Regions from separate parts of the Homo sapiens genome. Here region 1 is linked to region 2. Evidence: promoter capture Hi-C in 16 types of primary human blood cells and fetal thymus (Javierre and others, 2016). All regions are on one chromosome and are shown on one strand. The core of a region is centred on a gene start or on the middle of the fragment in contact, and the rest is flanking DNA. Distances in the headings are between cores, read along the strand shown. Region 1 holds the start of FBXO34 (F-box protein 34). Region 2 holds the start of GMFB (glia maturation factor beta).

Region 1 (2,700 bases), core at 41-2,540, 780 kb before region 2:
ACCTGGATAAATTAACTCCTCAGGTAATTATTATTTAAGACAAATGTTGGATTAATTCAAACTCCTCCCTCCCTTTACAACAGAAAAAAAAAATCATGTAAGATCCACTCTCCCTCCTCCTGGCCATTTTCTAACAAAAAATGCTAACAAGCAGATAGATGTCCAGTTAAAAAAAAAAAAAAAAAGCAAACTGATTTATCAACACTAGAAGTGGTTCTCTTTTTTTTCAGTAATTCTGATTGCAAACTATCAAACTACGAATTTAGCTTCCTAAAAGGCTTTTTACATTACACCCTCCAAAAAACCTCCTACCCTGACTTAAGTTTTTCTAAATCAAATGTCTTATACTGAGCTGTACTCGCAACGCTTGCTGGACAAGAAGTTAAAGAAATTGACAACTATTACATTAAAATTGCAAAATGCTGATACCGAACAACTTTCGATTCAAATCCACTGCGATTCCAAGCGTTCGTGGAAGACAACTTCCTTTTTCTACCCTGCGGGTCCCCCCGGCCCTTCCGTGAGCCCAGGTCCCCGCCCGGGCCTGCAGTGACATCCCAGGACCCATCTTCTGACGTCACAGACACACGGACCCACAGCCCTATGACTTCATCGTGGACTGAGGACGAACCGCAGTCGACTTGCGCCAGCCCAGAGGCTGGGGAGGCGTCCGAGCCTCCGTCCCGCCTCGTCGTTGAAGAAGGTTAAGGACAAGCGCCAGCTCACCTGCGCTGGGGCAGGGAAGGGCAGAGTGGCCGAGCCCGGGAGGGCGCGACAGGGGCGAGGCGACCCCAGTCCAGAGGCTGACTTCCTCACCGCCCTGGGTCCCGTAAGTGGGAGCGCCGGTCCGGTGCAAGCTCACGGCCTATCCGTGAATCTCCTCGGCTTCAGCGGGGACCCAGGACCCCGCTCCCTACCCGCCCGACCCTCCGTGGCCCGCGGGGACGCTCAGCGCCCGGGCCGTGCGCGCGGAAAGAGCCGCACCGGAGGAGGCGCAGGCGGCCGGGTCCCTACCCCGGACCCGCGGGCGGCGCCCCCGCCCCCACCCCCACCCGCCCCGCGCCCCGGGAGCGCAGGCAGGCGGCGGTAGGGGGCGGGGAGCGGCCACGGTGGCCGCCGCCGGACCCCAGTCGCGCGGCCCTCGCGCCACGCCCCACCTCGGCCCGGACCCACCTGCGCTCCTGCCCCGGCCGCGGCCTGGCCCGGGGCTGCACCAGCCCGACGCAGTGGTGGCGGCAGCAGCGGTGGCGGGAGGCCTGGCTCACTCCCCACCGCTGAGTCGGACCGAGCACCCAGCGCGGCGCGGCGGCGCCCAACGCTCGCCCCGAAACCCATTTGTTTGGCTAAAACGGAGTGACGTCACGCGCCGGCCCAATCGACGGTTGGCCGGGGGAGGGGCCACGGATCCAGAGTTTCACGGCGCCCCCTGCCGGACACTGGGGGCGGGAAGGGGGAAGTGAAAAGGGAGACCTGGATGACGCGTCTGCGGCCCCCAAGTGGTAGAGAATGAAAGTTTGAGCACGACTGTAGGGAAAGGAATCAAACCTCCCAGGCCAGCCAAGAAGGGTAGTGACGCCAGGGTTCAATCAGCAGACATGTCAAGTTTATGAATATTCGTGGGTGGACCTGAAGCTGTAAATGGTCTCAGATACTATTAGATAACCTAGTAGACCTGGATCCTCATACTGGTTCTGCTGCTAGCTTGGAAGGCTGGGGTTCAGAGTTTCAATTTGTAAAATGACAAAATTGGAAAGGTCCCTTCTGACTCTCTTTCCTATGAAAATCATGGCAGGGATACCGGTCAGAAAGTAGATAAACGTTGAGGCTGACACGAAACTGTTAAAGTCTGTAGAAGCTTAAGGGCTGGTTAATGATGGATATAAATTTTTAACACTTTATATTCAAATCAGAGGGCCAGTGAGGAACTTTTGATTCCCAATCTTTAAGCTTATTATTGTTTTCATTGTGAAAATAATATTAACCACATTGAAAAACATGAGGACAATGTATTTTCTTCTAGACCTTTTGCCCCATCACATATATTTTACTACACTGTAATAGTAGTTGTACGCGATTTTGCATCCTCTTTTCACTTTTATAAGCATTCCTCATATTTCCACATAAGCTTCATAACCAGTTTAACAGCTGCATAAAATTACATTAAGTGGACATAAAATTTACTGCAGTAATTCTCTATTTTTGGACATAACTTGTTTCCTTCATTCACTTTTTGCCATTATAAAGAAATCATAGAACATCTTCATGAATGTAGATTTTTAAAGATACCCAAAAGTGAAATTACTAGGTGAAAAAGACTATCAACACTTTCACAGTTACTAATACAAACTGCCAAATGATTTTTAAAAGGTTGTACCAAGTTACACTTAAACCAGCAACTTTGATTTTAGCCAGTCCTTAACAAAAATAATTTTGTCCAATTATAAAACTACTGTTGTAAAATATATGTGTAAAATCTTAAATATTAAAACGTAAAAACAAAATAAAAATATTTCCCATAATCTCATCACCAAGAAATAACCACTCAGTATCTCCATCTAGACCTTTATCTATATACATATTTTTAATAAAAATTGGAGAGGGGAAGTCCAGGCACGGTGGCTCACATCTCAAAAAGGAAAAAAAAAATTAAGGAAGGGTGTTATATGGTACACCGTGGCATCAAACTGTATGTCTGATTTA
Region 2 (2,700 bases), core at 64-2,563:
AAACAGATAATGCTGACCTGCATAAACTACCCCTAATTTGTTGTGCTCTTTTAGGAGAGTCAGTCAGGGAATTCTCTCATTCTCTTATGCTGCCTCCCTTATGCTCCGGCATAAGCTCCAATGAAGCCTTGCCTGGAGAAACTCTTTTGGCCTCAGGTCAATTTGCATTGAGAGACCAAGAACCCATGGTCATAACAAAATGAGGTACTGCCCCAGGCAGTTTGTTTTATTGAAGGTACCTGTTGAATCCTAGAGCCTAAACTTTACTTCTCCCAAACCACTTTCTTCATGCATTCAAAACTGGACTTGTTCCACTAAGTCTGCATCTGGTACAGAGACTTCTTGATGTTTACTTAGGCAGTGGCCCATAAGAGTGCTCATTGAAACACCAATCATCATTCATTCATACTTCAATAAATAACTTGTATGGAGAAAAGAGGCTGGGCATGGTGGCTGACGCCTGTGATCCCAGCGCTTTGGGAGGCACACAGGAAGACTGTTTGTGGCCAGGAGTTCAAGACCAGCTTGGGCAATATAGGGAGACTCTATCTCTACAAAAAAATTTAAAAATTAGCCGGGTGTGTGGTGGCACACGGCTGTAGTCCCAGCTACTGGGGAGGCTGAGGTAGGAGGATTGCTTGAACCCAGGAGTTTGAGGCTGCTGTGAGCTATAATCGTGCTACTGCATTCCAGCCTGGGCAACAGAGCGAGACGAGAGAGAGAGAGAAGAAATGTGTGTGTGTGAGAGAAGAGAGAAGAAATGTGTGTGTGTGTGAGAGAGAAGAAATGTGTGTAAGAGAGAGAGGGAAAGGGGGAGGGAGAGAGAGAGAAAGAGAGAGAGAGAGAGAGAGAGATTGATTAACCAAGTCCTGGAAGGCAGCCGTGGTCAGAAGTGGGGTTCTGGAGAGGGTGGGAGGAAAGGAGGTGTGCCTAGATTTGAGGGAGATCAAATTTGGAAGGTAGGCTGCGGTCAGTACACACATTTACCATTGAAAACATTGATGTCACCATTAACATGCTCTCAGAGCTTGAAGACTGCGAAAAAGGTCCGGAGAACTGGCATGACTTTTAAGTATGCACCTTGGGTTTGTTTCTCACTTGCAGCCAGGCAGAGCGTCCTCCTCTAGAGGGAGCAGGGAAAAGAAAAAAAAAAAAAAAAAAAAAAAAAAAAAAATCAGGCGATCGCATTCTGTCTAATTTTGAGCCGCGCCTTTTGCCGTCCGCCATCACGTGCCGGCCCGCTGAGGCCGCGTTGATAGGTGGGGGCGACTGGGCCAGGCGCCGGGGCAGGAAGGGAGGCGGCCGCCGTGCCATTCTTAAAGGCGCCCGAGTGTAGGCGACAGGCCGCTGACGGCCGGAAGGAAAATGGTGAGTTGCCGCTGGGAGGGCGGGGGCCGGAGGGCTGGGCGAGCCGGCCAGCCGGGTTTTCCCGGTTTCCGGAGCCGGCGGCGGCGGGCAGCGCCCAGGAGGGCTCGGCGGCCGCTTCCGCTCCCAGCAGCTGGCCAGTGCCCATAGCTAGAGTACTTGGCCTCTGCCGCCGCCACCACGCCTCAGGGCAGCATCTTCCAGCTGGGCCCGGGGTGGACCCGCCCAGCGGGCCATGGGACTAGGGTGCGGCCACGAGCAGGGGGGTTGGGGAGGCCCCACGCCAGGTCCTTCTGGTTGGAGGGCTTCAGCTTCTGAGCTGTAGGTTGGAGGGAAAGGGGTCTGCCCCATCGGAGGGCTCCCTCAATTCCTGCTTTCCCTGCCAGGGCCGTGGCCAGGTTCCAGGGGTTGGTGGGCCCCGAGCATCTTCCACCTGGCGGCGTTTTGGGGGAGGACTCGAATTCCGATTGAATTCTCTCGGCCTCACCTTAGCTTCTTTCTCTCTGCTCCTTTCCCTAGCTTCCTACAGAGGATTTCTCCTTATCTTTGCTTTCCTATGGCAGTTGGAAACCTTTCGACCCAAAGCTTTGGCACTGGGCCTTAAAGTAATTGTCAATAACTTTAGTTTTGTTGGTTCTGGGGGCTGTGGCTTCTGTTCTTACATGGGATGGACCCCAAGCATAAAAATAAAGTGGAAAATTAAATAAATCGCCATCAAGGATCTTTTGGATCCATCCCATTAGGTTTTAAAATATGGGTAAATTTCATTAGAAACAACAAAACACTGCTCTCTGTGACCATCCACTCAATTCTCAGCCCACTTTCATCGAATAGATCTTGTCATGGTCACTGAATCGAATGGATTCTTTTCAGTTTTCGTCTTCTCTGACCTTTTAGCTGCATTCCAGAGTGTTATACTCTCTTGTTTTTGAAGCATTCTCTTCCTTCATTCTTCCCCTTTGGCTTCTGGGATACAGAGCTCCTCCTACTTCTCCTATTGGTCCATCTGTTTCCCTTTCAGACTATTCTCCTTTCCCTGGACAATGCTCGAAGGAGTCCCAGGTTTCATCCTAATCCTTCATTTTCCATTCTGTATTCTTCATCCTAAACTATGGCTTCAGTTACCATCTATATTCAGATGACTTGTGAATTTACAGCTCAGAAGACCTTGCTTCTGAGATCCAATCCAGATCTGTATGTACTTTTTTTTCTTTGAGTCGGAGTTTCACTCTTGTGGCCCAGGCTGGAGTGCAATGGCGGGATCTCGGCCCATTGCAACCTCCGCCTCCCAGGTTCAAGCAGTTCTCCTGCCTCAGCCTCCCAAGTAGCTGGGAT

Evidence for each region. The method cuts DNA at HindIII sites, captures the fragments that hold promoters and counts their contacts. A CHiCAGO score of 5 or more calls a contact.
Region 1: a contact is called between the fragment with the promoter of FBXO34 here and the fragment with the promoter of GMFB in region 2, in 3 of 17 cell types (monocytes, naive CD4 T cells and total CD8 T cells). The highest score is 5.6, in monocytes.

What each region holds. Positions count from the first base shown.
Region 1 is chr14:55,270,011-55,272,710 of GRCh38, reverse strand. FBXO34 (F-box protein 34) reads right to left here and starts at 1,290. Exons shown (of 2, transcript NM_017943.4): 1 at 1,174-1,290. FBXO34-AS1 (FBXO34 antisense RNA 1) reads left to right here and starts at 633. Exons shown (of 2, transcript NR_184222.1): 1 at 633-829. RefSeq lists a silencer at 739-1,238. The HindIII fragment of the contact is 2,090 bases long and covers 1-1,857 here.
Region 2 is chr14:54,487,593-54,490,292 of GRCh38, reverse strand. GMFB (glia maturation factor beta) reads left to right here and starts at 1,313. Exons shown (of 7, transcript NM_004124.3): 1 at 1,313-1,368. The coding sequence starts at 1,366. RefSeq lists a silencer at 1,231-1,630. The HindIII fragment of the contact is 2,730 bases long and covers 1-1,952 here.